3 separate regions of the Homo sapiens genome follow, and all the other regions are linked to region 2. Evidence: promoter capture Hi-C in human tissues and cell types (Jung and others, 2019). All regions are on one chromosome and are shown on one strand. Each heading gives the region's core, a stretch centred on a gene start or on the middle of the fragment in contact. The rest is flanking DNA. Distances are from core to core; before and after follow the strand shown. Region 1 has its middle 80 kb from the start of FGFBP1. Region 2 holds the start of FGFBP1 (fibroblast growth factor binding protein 1). Region 3 overlaps CD38 (CD38 molecule).

Evidence for each region. The method cuts DNA at HindIII sites, captures the fragments that hold promoters and counts their contacts. A contact is called where the count stands out against the background at its distance.
Region 1: a fragment that was not itself captured here is called in contact with the fragment with the promoter of FGFBP1 in region 2 in 2 of the 25 tissues and cell types used here (dorsolateral prefrontal cortex and spleen).
Region 3: a fragment that was not itself captured here is called in contact with the fragment with the promoter of FGFBP1 in region 2 in 5 of the 25 tissues and cell types used here (aorta, dorsolateral prefrontal cortex, neural progenitor cells and 2 more).

What each region holds. Positions count from the first base shown.
Region 1 is chr4:15,856,891-15,861,367 of GRCh38, reverse strand. No RefSeq gene overlaps it. Among named protein-coding and RNA genes, the nearest start is that of FGFBP1, 80 kb to the left of the region's middle. The HindIII fragment of the contact is 4,017 bases long and covers 356-4,372 here.
Region 2 is chr4:15,936,847-15,941,506 of GRCh38, reverse strand. It overlaps FGFBP1 (fibroblast growth factor binding protein 1), which reads left to right and starts at 2,767. Exons shown (of 3, transcript NM_005130.5): 1 at 2,767-2,820; 2 at 3,036-3,256. The HindIII fragment of the contact is 13,154 bases long and covers 1-4,660 here.
Region 3 is chr4:15,829,760-15,834,382 of GRCh38, reverse strand. CD38 (CD38 molecule) reads right to left here. Exons shown (of 8, transcript NM_001775.4): 4 at 81-166. Among named protein-coding and RNA genes, the nearest start is that of CD38, 54 kb to the right of the region's middle. The HindIII fragment of the contact is 8,209 bases long and covers 1-4,623 here.

The DNA of each region.
Region 1 (4,477 bases), core at 1,115-3,614, 80 kb after region 2:
CTTGTGAGAACTCACTTTCATGAGAAGAGCATAAGGGTAACCACCCCCATGATTCAATTACCTTCCATCAGGTTCCTCCTACCACATGTGGGGATTATGGGAACTACAATTCAAGATGAGTTTTGGGTGGGGACACAGCAAACCATATCACATCTGTTCTTATGTATACACATTCCTTTGCAATGTTAATTGGTAGTTTCCCAATCACAAGGTAAAGTTTATTTCTCTACCTCTTGAATATGAGGTTGGCCATGTGACTTGTGACTTGTTGGACTTGCATTGTTTATAATGGCTTGTTTTTCTTTTTAATAAATTTATTTTTTCGAGTAGTTTTAGATTCACAAAAAACTGAGTAGAAAGTACAGTCTTCATATAATCCCTGCACCCACACGTGCACAGCCATCCCAACCATGGTTTTTATAAAAAATGAAAATAAAATACTTGTACCAAATTAGGGGATGAATAAATTATGGTACAACAATATTCTTTGCCAATGAAAAATAACAACGCAGAGCTCTATTTATTGACTTAGAAAGATATTCACAACATATTAGTTTGAAAAAAGCTAGTCACTGTAGGGTGAGATAGCATTTCTCTAAACATATGATCTCATTTCTCTAAACATATACCTATTTCATTAGATCTAAGATGTCATCAAGTATAAGATAGACTATTAATTATTCATTACTAAGAAAAAGGATGCTTCCACTTAAACTGTCATATGTTGTTTTGTAAATACATTGATTCTAAGATACAGCCTGATGTCAGAAATTCTAAAATCTTTTTAAAAATGTTTCTTAGCTTGTGCATATGTGGTTGATATAAAAATGTAATTTTTAAATTTATTGATACATAATATTTGTACACATTTATGAGATACATGTGATATTTTGTTATGTGCATTGAATGTATAATTATCAAGTCAGAGTTCTTAGGGTATCCATTGCCTCGAGTATTTATCATTTATATGTGTTGGGAACATTTCAAGTTCTCTCTTCTAGTTATTTTGAAAGATACAATACGTTGTTGTTACTTATAGCTACCCTACTCTGTTATGAAATATTAGAACTGATTCCTTCTATGTAACTGTATGTTTGTACCCATTCAGCAACCTCTCTTCATCCCCTCCACCACACACACACACACACACACACACACACACACACACACACACACCCTTAGCCTTTGGTCTCATTCTACTCTCCACCTCCATGACATCAACTTTTTAAGCTCCCATATATGAGGGAGAATATACAATATTTGTCTTTCTATGTCTGGCTTATCTCACTTAGCATGATGACCTCCAGTTTCATTCATGTTCTGAAAGTGACATGATTTCTTTCTTTTCCATGACCAAATAGTACTCCATTGTGTATATACACCACATTTTCTTCATCCATTTATTAATGGATAATTTGTTAATTCATATCTTTGCTATTGTGAACAGCACTACAATAAACATAGGGGTGCAAGTGTCTTTTGATATACTGATTTATTTTCCTTTGGATAAATATGCAGTTGTGGGATTGCCGGGTCATATGATAGTTCCATTTTTAGCTTTTTGAAAACTCTCCATACTGTTTTCTATAGTGACTGTACTAATTTACATTCCCACCAACAGTGTATAAGAGTTTCCTCTTCTCCACATCCTCATCAGCATCTGTTAATGTTTGTCTTTTTAATAATACCCATTCTGAGGTAAGATAATACCTCATTGTGGTTTTGATTTGCATTTTGATAATTAGTGATGAACATGTTTTCAAATACCTGTTGGCCATTTGTATGTATTTTTTTGAGAAATGTCTCTTCCTGTCCTTTACCCACTTTTAAATGGGATTAATTGTGGGTTGGTTTGTTTGTTTACTGTTGAGTTGTGAGTGCCTCGTATATTCTGAATATTAGTCCCTTGTCAGATGAATAGTTCACAAGTATTTTCTCCCATTTGACAGGTTGTCTCTTTACTCTGTTGATTATTTTCTGTGCTGAAGCTTTGTATTCTAATATAGTCCCGTTTGTCCATTTTTGCTTTTGTTGCCTATGCTTTTGAGGTCTTAGCCATAAAATCTTTGCCTAGATCAATGTCTTGAAGTGTTTTCCCTATGTTTTCTTCAAGTAGTTTTATAGCTTAGGGTTTTGTGTTTAAGTATTAATGCATCTTGAGTGGATTTTTTGTATATGATGAGAGATGGAAGTACAGTTTTATTTTTCTGCATATGAATGTCCAATTTTCCCAGCACCATTTATGGAAGAGGGTGTCCTTTCTCCAATGTATGTTCTTGGAGCTTTTGGTGAAAATCAGTTGGCTATAAATATGTGTATTACTTTCTGGGTTATCTATTCTGTTCTATTGGTCTATGTGTTGGTTTTTTGTTTCTGTTTTTGTTTTTGAGAGAGAGTCTTGCTCTGTCACCAGGCTGGAGTGCAGTGGTGCCGTCTCGGCTCACTGCAACCTCTGCCTCTCAGGTTTGAGTGATTCTCCTGCCTCAGCCTCCCAAGTAGCTGGGACTACAGGCCTGCACTGCCACACCCAGCTAATTTTTGTATGTTTAGTAGAGATGGGGTTTCACCATGTTGGCAAGGATGGTCTTGATATCTTCACCTCATGATCCACCTACCTCGGCCTCCCAAAGTGATGGGATTACAGGCGTGAGCCATACCACCATGTTGTTTTGGTTACTATAAGCCTTGTAATATATTTTGAAGTGAAGTAGTGTGATGCCTCCAGCTTTGTTCTTTTTGCTCAGGATTGCTTTGGCTATTTAGTTCTCTTTTTTTGTTCCATATGAATTTTAGGATTGTTTTTCTATGAAAAATATGATTTATATGAAAAGTGTACAATATATACATAAGATGTTATCAGTGGTAACCACTGGTAACCTGGGTGGTAAGATTATCAATGAGTAGAAAGTATAGCACTGATATATTTCAATGATTTTGTCTTTATTTTTTATTATCTGTATTGCTTACATCAAAGAAATGGTAACTTGGTTAAAAATAAAAACATTTTAAAGGAAAACTCTCAATCTCCCCTGTTTGGGGAAGCTTTCATCATCCCTCTCACATCACCCCAAATTGTACTTTGTGCTCATGGGGCATGTTTGTGTCATTGACAGTCCTAACCATCTCATTCTCAGTCCTCCTAAAAGACCAGAGTTTTCCAGACAACACAGTGGGCAGCTGGAAAGGGGTATGGGGGAAATGACTTTTACCAAGTTCAGGCTGAAGTAGAGATTCCCCCTTGAATACACAGGGAGTGGGCCATCTGCTCCACGGCAGTAGCCCATGCCTGTTTCTGTCAATACTCTGTCACCAGCACCTTGCACCTAGAAAAGGATCAGCTAATACTGGTGATCAAATAATCAGTAGGTCAATTATTTAATAGTGAGGCTAAAGTGGCCAGCAAAGCCAAGTCTGGACAAAGAAACTGAGCTACAGCGGTGAGGATTAAAGAAGGCATTATGGAGACAAAAGCCCTGAGAGCAAATACTGACTGAGTTTCTGCTCTGTGTCTGGGATTGAGGATAAAGCAATGAAGAAAAAGACCAGGTCTAGCCATCATGGAAATGAGATTCTGGGTGAAACTAGATCAGAGGAAGAGAGGAAGAGAGAAGTATCTTTTTCTAGAGTTTGGTACCCTCTGCTTATGGCTTCCATTTTCTAAGTCCAAGGCTGCTGCTGAAATTTCATTGTTTTTCAGCAAAGTAAAGGAGATAAAAGTGAAAATTTAGTCCATTGATGATAGACTGGATCAAGAAAATGTGGCACATATACACCATGGAATACTGTGCAGCCATAAAAAAGGACGAGTTCATGTCCTTTGTAGGGACATGGATGAAGCTGGAAACCATCATTCTGAGCAAACTATCACAAGGACAGAAAACCAAAAACCACATGTTCTCACTTATAGGTGGGAATCGAACAATGAGAACACATGGACACAGGGTGGGGAACATCACACAATGGGGCCTGTCGTGGGGTCGGGGGAGGGAGGGAGGGAGGGATAGCATTAGGAGAAATACCTAATGTAAATGACGAGTTAATGGGTGCAGCATATCAACATGGCACATGTATACATATGTAACAAACCTGCACGTTACGCACATGTACCCTAGAACTTAAAGTATAATTTAAAAAAATGAAAATTTAGAGCAAGTGGCTGTTTCTAAGGTGACTAGGCAATTGCATTAATCATCTCCATTCATACCCTATTGGCCAGAGCCAGCTGCAGAGCTGGGATCTGTTCTCTAGCCGTGAAGTCATGCCCTGATTAAAAATGGCAGATGGGGAAATACTGTTTATTTTTTTTAAAAAAAGAAGAAAAGAACACATACTAGGCAACAGTTAGCAATCTCCACCACACCTGTTTGTGGATTCTTAGGCTTTTTGATAGGAAAGAAAGACATGGAAGGAGAAAACCTTGACTCCTAAACTATTGCTCACAACTCCACACACCTTCCACAACCCCAGAAGGACTTAG
Region 2 (4,660 bases), core at 1,518-4,017:
AACGTACCATAGTAATGTAACAGGTAAATAGGGAACCCAGGTGAGAATTGGAATGATAACTATCTTTGCAATTCTCTGTAAACCTAAAATTATTCTAAAACTTTAAAAAAAAATTTAAAGGGAAGGTATGAAGGGGCAAAGAGAGGAGAATTCCACAATTTATCAGTGTATGCGTACACTGCCTCATTTGTGTTTAGAATGATAGCAGCGGCCTCCAGATAATTCTTCTCTAATTGTGTGTCAGACACTGTGCTTAGTCCCCCTAAGCCTTGCCTCCACATCTGTCCCATGAGGACCTGGGCCGACTTTCCTCCTGGGGTTCTTGTGCAATGGGCCTTTATGTACTCATCCCCAAGAATTACAGAGCCCCTCAGTGCTGGGAGCATGGGGAGGTGGAGGGGCCTGAAGTTACTGGAACCTGCTATGCACTGCGTGGCTGGGGCTCCATGTCCTCTGCAGTCTCCCCAGAGCCACTGGAAAAGGACATCGTTTCCTTAGTTCATGGAGATACGAAGAAAGCTTGGGAAACAGCCTTAGCACAGTGCCTGGCACGCTGTAAGCTCATTGGAGGAAGTGTGCCATTTCTCCCCGTGGACATTCTTAAAGATGTGGGTGGCATGCAGGGCGTCAGGAGCCAATGACACCAACAGAGAGGGGCTCGCATTGGAGCCTGGCCTTGAAGGATGAGGCGGTGTGTGCCAGGCAGAGAAGGAAGGGAAGGGGATCCCAAGTGCAGGGAACAGCAGAGGCAAAGGCAGGAAGTGGGCGCATGCATGGAGTATCTGCAAATGGTGGGACAGGGTTTCAGTGTGGCCAGATTGCAGTGTGTGTGTGCATGTGTGTGTGTGTCTGTCTCTGTGTGTGTGTCAGTGTCACTGTGTGTGATTCTGTGTGTGTGTGCCTATGAGTATGTGTGTGAATGTGTCTAGGTGTCAGTATGTGTGTGTCTCTGTGTGTCTATGAGTGTGGTGTCTTTGAGTGTGTTTGTGTGTGTTTGAGTGTGTCAGTGTGTGTTTGTGTGTGTCTTTGTATGTGTGTCAGTGTGTATGTGTATTTATGTGTCTGCGTGTGAGTACCTGGAAATGAGGTTGGAAGGGCAGGATGAGCCAAGGAGGTGACTGCCCCACAGCCTGCTCTGATGCTGTGCTGCTGAGTCTAGAAGGGAAAGAGCAAAGCAGACGCTGGGATGGGAGTCACAGGAAGGGGAAGGGCCACAAGGAGCCAGTGGGGAATGTGCAGTGTTACCTGGCAAAGCTCAGAGAAGCACTTCCCAGAAAGACCCCGGAGTCCACATGTTTCCTTGTAAATATGTTTTGTGTTCCAACTGCAATCTGCCTCCAGAAAGAATCTGCCTGCCTCCCAAGGATCAAGTAGAATTTTCCATTTTGTAGGAGACTCCCCTTGTTGAGCAAAGCAGCTTTGCCTTGCCTATGTCCAAATAATCCTCCAAAATACCGCATGAGAGAGCCTGTTCGTGGAGGTCAGGGCCTCAGCGGGGTGTTTGTGAGGATAGTGAGGACGGACCCCTGGGTGAGGCAATTTTAGGAGAGAGGCACACAGCTTCAGAAATGGCTTCTTCCAACAGATTCATGCAGAGACTGAGCCTCTGAGTAAATTGGTCAACATCTATAGCTATGACCACGGAATTCTCAAACAGGTGGATCGTTCATAAAATCCAAACACAGTTACAAGTTTTGGCCTGCATAGTGTTGAGCTACAGCTTTATTTTTAGAAAATTTTAATTAGCTGCCAACCAATTTCATATAAACACATCTGGATTTGGGGATGTCATTTTAAAAATCAGACAGTGTGACAATACTGAGCCTAATCCCTGCATTTTCTCAGTCAATTGGAGATGAGTGTTGACCTCTATGGAGGCAGAGACTCTCTAGTTTGCCACAGTCCCCATCACTCCCTATTGCCTTATCTCAAACCCAAAAGTCAGTTGCCATTTAATATCACACTAAACAATAGTTTTCTTATGGCTGAATTAAGGAAAAGTGAACAATTTCTTCTTCTGAAAATCTATGAAAGGTGAGGTGATAATATATAATGAGGGCCACATCTTCCCTGTAGAAGTGAGTTTCTTTTTAAATGCTGCATATGTAAATAACAAATGTCTGTTTTCAAAGTATACAACTTAAGACCCTGTCATGAGGCAAAACGATTCTGCTCCACTTTATGTTAACAGCTTAGCCCAGTAAAAATTTAGTATGCAGCTATAAAGGAGACGTTGTTATTGTCAGCACACTGCAAATGGATGATGGGAGAGGCTAAGTGGTTTGGGCATAGCACTCAGCTAAACACATGCTGTGGCCAGGATTCCACCTGGGTCATTCTGGTGTGGGACTGTGCCTGTAGCAGGCAGGGCAGCCTGAGCTCTCTGAATGAGACCTGAAGGTAAGTATTTACAACAGTAATCTTATATTAAAAATTCCCTCTTTACCAGCCTCTCAGAGCCTGGTAGAATTCCCTGATAAAAAAGAGGGAATTTTTAATGTAAATTTCCCTGCCTCTAGAATTAGGGTATCCTCTGCTTATGTAGTAACTTCAGATGGAAAAAGGAACTCAGACACTACGAAAACTTCGGCAACTTCAGTCACCCATTCAACAAAGATTTATTGAGAGTGGCAGGCAGGAAGAGATCAGACCATGGATGTAGAGAATCTCACTTTTAATTTTGAGATGTTCCTTTTCCTGCCTCTGTGAACTTGGACAAGCTCTTACATATCTCCAGAACCAATTCCTGCTTTTGTAAAAGGGGAGGAATCATTGCACTCCCTACTAGAGCGGATGTGATGAGGGAAAAGGAGAACTCAGGTAAAATGGGCTCAGTAGTTTGGCAGCTCGGATCATGTCATTATAGTTATTTTACTCCTCCATAGACATCACTGCTGGGGTCCTCTCCCCATCAAGGAGGGTCACTGTGAGGCTGAGTTGTCCTCCTATCCTGGCCACAGGGTGGACAGGGAAGGGCCTAGAGGAAGCGTTTGATGGCATGCAGGTAACCCCCCTTTTCACTGGATTACATCCAGCACTTTCCCTGCAGGAACCGGCTCCCTCGGAGGGGCGTGGCTGGGAGGAGCTGTGAGTAACGTGCCACAGTGTTGTAAAAACCCAGTGAGTGTTATAAAAACCCAGTCAGCCTGGCTCCTGTTGAATAGTCTACCCCCCTTGCACTCTACCTGACACAGCTGCAGCCTGCAATTCACTCGCACTGCCTGGGATTGCACTGGATCCGTGTGCTCAGAACAAGGTAAGAGCCTCGCTCCTTTAACAGCTTTATTACCTGCTGCCACTTCTCACTCCACCAAGGGCCTGGAGTTCCTTGGGCCTGCATTCCATCATGGGCAGGTGGGGGCTGAGCCCCAGGGCCGTGAGAAATGACTGGGTGTTTTTCTGGCATATCCAGTCTCCTCTTCACCATTTATTGCTGTTCTCTGCCCTTTTGTGATTGTCTTTCTCCTTCTTAACCCTAGAAGATGGCCAACTTCTAGGGTAGAAATCAGATCAGGACCATTTCCTGGGTCTGCCTCTTTTTATAAAAAATTCTGTGTTTTGTTTTAAATGGAGCACAAATAATACAAATCATCTTATCATTATGTGTTATATGAAACTAAATTGTCATTGTTCATAGTTGTTTTTCTTATTCTTTGGCAATGTTTTTAAAGGGCAGAGTAAATGTGAAAAGCAAAAAGTGATCAACCAGGGGTGACAGAAAGGAATAAGGAGATTGATCTGGCTACCCATACCAGCTTTGAACTTGCCCACTATGAGATCCTGAGCAATTTACTTACCTGTCTGAGCCTTAAGAGTCAGAGCTGTCACCTGGGATGACATATTAATAGCTACCTGGAAGAGCTCTTGTGTGGATTTCACAAGGTGGGAATCAAACCCTAGACCAGTACTTAGCACACAGGAGGTGTCATATAGAAACTGACTTCTCTTCTTCTGTTAAGCATGGGTTTTTATTGTACACATGATCAGATTCATGCAGTTCAGTGTGACGTTGGTGTTCATCCTATTGATTCAATGATTTCTCATGATCCTTGTCTTCGATCTTGTAGTGTGAACTATCTGGTTGAAATTCACCTCTCTCCACCCTGATTCACTTTGCCCAGGCAAATCAGACAACCACCCCACCTCACACCTTTCCTTAAACTCTTACTTCCCCACAAAAAGCTCCCCCACCCCCACAACCCCACCCACCCCACCCAAACCCCAGGCATGTTCAACTCTGGGTCAACATCACCTTTCATGATGCTTACCACATCCTTTCTCATTTTGGGCATCTGTCATGTCTTTTCTCATTTTGGGCATCTGTGTCCATATGGAGTCATGAGATAGAAATCCAGCCCTTTGGAGCTGAAAGTTTGGAGCAGTAACTTGTTTCATATCAGAAACAGAGATGACGGGATAGATTCCCTGATCAATGCTATTTAAATTCTCCCAAAGAGTGGTCTCTAAGCTCTTTCAAATCTGAGGCTTTCTCAATCATGGTGATTTCTTCAACACCTAGTCTGGTGGGGGGCATATAGTAGGTGCTCAGTAAATGCTTGTTGAATGAGTGAATGAAAGAGTGAGGAGTGAGCAGATGCAGGAGTTAATGAGTGAATAAATGATAAATGAGAGTTCGTGAGGCTCCAAAGAGTGGTACTTT
Region 3 (4,623 bases), core at 1,469-3,968, 110 kb after region 2:
GTTAAAACCAAGCACTGACTGAGTAACGTCTTAAGTTCTGTGGTCTCCAAAGCTCTAGAATTTCACTACTTGGTACTTACCCTGCGGGAAACCGTTTTCCAGAATACTGAAACAGGGTTGTTGCTGCAGTCCTTTCTCCAGTCTGGGCAAGATTGATAGTTTATTTCTAAAAGACATAGTTTGTAGAAAATAAAGTGGAAAACAGAGAGTATAAATAAGCTGTACTCTTCCCTGGCTGTTCAGTCATAGTGGAACCATTTTCCAATGTGTCACTGCCAAGACGGAGGCTGGAGAATGGACACATTTTGACCCAATTTAACTAAGTGTCCCCTGAATTCTTTCCAAGTTCTTACCTTATCTTCCAAATCCCAGATGGGAACACAGTGGCAAGTTTTGAGTCATGGTTCTGGGAAATGCTACCAAAAGTTCATCTGACAGAGACAAGCCCTCTAGGATTATCCCCAGTCCAGGAAGAATTAGAGGTAAAACCAGTCCTTCAGTGGTTGCTTTTGCCAACTGCTTTTCTGCTTCCTGACAACTCTCTCTTGCTGTGTTTCCTGCCCCACTTCTTAAGTCTTCACCACTTACTCTCAGATGGCCTCAGAGTCTTCCTACACTTGCCCTCATCAAGGCAGTCTTAACCCTGAGTGAAGTACAATGGACACAGAGCATGAATACATAGTTTCTGTGTCACTTCTCCCAAGGATATCTGCCTTAATGCACATTTATTGAGTTTTAGGTCTTAGAGGTAGAAAGATAAAATAGAAAAATTAGATGGGAACTTTGCCTTCAGAGAGCACATGATATAGTAATTCTAGGAGTCTTGTAATGATTAAATGCTTTAAAACCAAAACCACACAAATAAAAAAGAAACATTCCCATGTGTAGATATAAATAATTATTGTGGAGTCAAAAGGAATTATCTTCCCAACAGAGGTAAAAATGTTGATGGTGGAATGGACATACATTTCATAAGGTGCTTTAAAGTATATATGTTTTCATGAAAATAAACCTCTTTTATCTTCACAACGACATCTGGAGAGAATTCATCACCTACTAACTGAAGAGCCCTTGGGCCCTGAAAAACCAGAAGTGATACCCAATTAGTATGTCATGGGCCTTGGGTGAGACTCTGTGACTTGCTGGCTTCAGGTACAGCCACAGAGAGGTAGAGCACCAACTGGGCTTGGGGTCCCTGATTCCAGGATGTGGCTCTTGGATAGCATTTCTGGGCCTGCCCTGGGCCAGAGGGGAGCCCACTGCTTTGAAGGGTGAGTCCCAGGCCAGGCAGCATTAACCACAAGCTGACTGAAGAGTCCTTGGGCCTTGGAATATTAACAGTACACTGGCAGTACTCCCTGTGGGCCTGTGGTGGTGGTGGCCATGAGGTGAGGCTCCTTTGCCTTAGAAAAGGGGAAGACAGCATGGGAAGGACTGTGTCTTGTGGTTTGAATGCCAGCTTAGTCACAGTACAATGCAATACTAGGTAGACTTCTAAGGTTTTTTACTCTAGTCCCTGGCTTCTGGATGGCACCTCTGGACCAACCCAGGGCCTTGGGAAACTTGCCAACCTGAAGAGAAGAACACGGGTCTGGCTGGCTTTCTCACCTACTGATTGTAGAGCCCCAGAGCCTTGAGCAAATATAGATGGCAGCTAGGAAGTGGTTACTGCAGGCCCTGGGCAAGTGCTGTACTGGCTTCAAGTCTTACCCAGCAAAGTCCTAGTTGCGGTGGAGTGTGTCACCAGCTTTATGTGGGTCAGAACAGAAAGAGAGAGACTCTGGGAGAAAGTAAAGGGACTAGAAAAAGAATCTCTGCCTGGTAATCCAGAGAATCCTTCTAGATCTTGTCCAAGACCATCAAGGTGGTACCTCCATGAGTGTGTACAAGACCCACAGCATTACTAGGCTTGCAGGGCCCCCTACAGCAGATACAACGTAGATCACAACATCCGAGTCCTTCAAAATATCTGGAAAGCCTTTCCAAGGACAAGTACAAACAGGCCCAGGTTGTAAAGACTACAATAAATACAATGCCTAGATGCAGAAAAATATCTACAAGTATCAAGACCATCCAGGAATACATGACCTCACCAAATGAATTAAATAAGACATCAGAGATCAATCCTGAAGAAACAGAGATATGTGAGACAGAGAATTCAAAATAGCCATGTTGAGGAAACTGAAAGAAATTCAAGAATTCTATCAGATGAATTTAACAAAGAGATGGAAATAATTAAAAAGAATCAAGTAGAAATTCTGGAGCTGAAAAGTACAAATAACACACTGAAGAATGCATCAGAGTCTTTTTATAGCAGAACTGATCAAGCAGAAGAAAGAATTTGTGAGCTTGAAGACAGGCTATTTGAAAATACACAGTCAGAGGAGACAAAAGAAAAAAGAATAAAAAACAATGAAGCACACTGGCAGGATCTAGAAAATTGCCTTAAAAGGGCAAATCCAAGAGTTATTGGTGTCAAAGAGGAGGTAGAAAAAGAGATACAGGTAGAAAGTTTATTCAAAGCAATAATAACAGAGAACTTTGCAAACCTAGAGAAAGATATCAATATCCCAAGTACAAGAAGGTTATAGAACACCAAGCAGATTTAACCCAAGAATGCTGCCCCAAAGCATTTGATAATCAAACTCCCAAAGGTCCAAGATAAAGAAAGGATCCTAAAAGCAGCAAGAGAAAAGAAACAAATAGCATACAAGGGAGTTTCAGTACATCTGGCAGCAGACTTTTCAGTGGAAACCTTACAGGCCAGATGAGAGTGGCATGACATATTTGAAGTGCTGAAAGACAAAAAAAAAAGTTTTTACTCTAGAATAGTATATCTGGTGAAAATATCCTTCAAACTTGAAGGAGAAACACAGACTTTTCCAGACAAACAAAAGGTGAGGGATTTAATTAACACGAGACCTGTCCTAGAAGAAATGCTAAAGGGAGTACTTCAATTAGAAAGAAAAGGATATTAATGAGCAATTTAATCATCTGAAGGTACAAAACTCACTGGCAGTAGTAAGTACACAGAAAACCACAGAATGTTATAACACTGTAACTATGACGTGTAAACTACTCTTGTCTTAAGTAGAAAAACTAAATGATGAGCCAATCAGAAATAATAACTACAATAACTTTTCAAGACATATAAAGTACAATAAGACATAAATAGAAACAACAAAAAGTTTTAGAGTGGGAGAATGAAGTTAAGGTATAGAGTTTGTATTAGCTTTCTGTTTGCTGTCTTTGTTTCTTTATGCAAACTGTGTTAAGTTGTTATCAGCTTAAAATAATGGGATATAAGATACTATTTTTAAGCCTCATGGTAACTTCAAACTCAAAAACATATAACAGTTCCACAAAAAATAAAAAGCAGGAAACTGAAAAAATCACCTCCACTGAAAGGAAGACAGAAAGGAAAGAAAGAAGGAAGAGAAGACCACAAAACAAACAGAAAACAAGTAACAAAATGGCAGGAGTAAGTCCTTACTTAAAAATATAACATTTACGTCAAATGTAAATGGACTAAACTCTACAATCAGAAGGCACAGAGTGGCTCAATGGATAAAAATGAAACTAGACCCCTATCTCAAATCACATACAAAAATAAAATCAAAATAGATTAAAGATTTAAATCTAAGACCTCAAACTATGAAACTACTGCAAACTACTACAAGAAACCACTGGGGAAACTCTCCATGACATTTGTCTGGGCAAAAAAAATTATTGAGCAATACCCCATGAGCACAGGCAACGAAAGCAAAATGAACAAACAGGATCACATCAAGTTAAAAAGCTTCTGCATAGCAAAGGAAACAATCAACAAAGTGAAGAGAGAGCCCACAGAATGGGAGAAAATATTTGCAAACTACCCATTCAAGAAGGCATTAAAAACCAGAATAGATAAGTAATTCAAACAACTCTATAGGAAAGAAATCTAATAATCCAATTAAAAATGGGCAAAAGATTTGAATACATATTTCTCAAAAGAAGACATACAAATGGCAAACAGGCATATGAAAATGTGTTCAAATCATTGACCATCAGATAAATGCAAATCAAAACTATCATGAGATATCATCTCACCCCAGCTAAAATGGCTTTCATCCAAAAGTCAGGCAATAACAAATAATGATGAGGATGTGGAGAAAGGGGAACCCTTGTACACTGTTGGTGGGAATGTGAATTAGTACAACCACTATGGAGAACAGTTTTGAGGTTTCTCAAAAAAATAAAAATAGAGCTATTATATGATCCAGCAATGCCACTGCTGGATATATACCCAACAGAAAGAAAATCAGTCAATGGAAGAGATATCTGCACTCCCATGTTTATTGCAGCACTGTTCACAATAGCCAAGATATGGAAACAACCTAAATGTCCATCAATAGATAAATGGATAAAGAAAATGTGGTATTTATACACAATGGAGTACTATTCAGCCACAAAAAAGAATGTGTTCCTGTCATTTGCAACAACATGAATAGAACTGGAGGTCATTATGTTAAGTGAAATAAGCTAGACACAGAAAGATAAACATAGGATGTTCTCACTTATTTTAGCATCCAACAAATCAAAACAACTGATCTCATGGACATGGAGAATAGAAAAATGGTTACC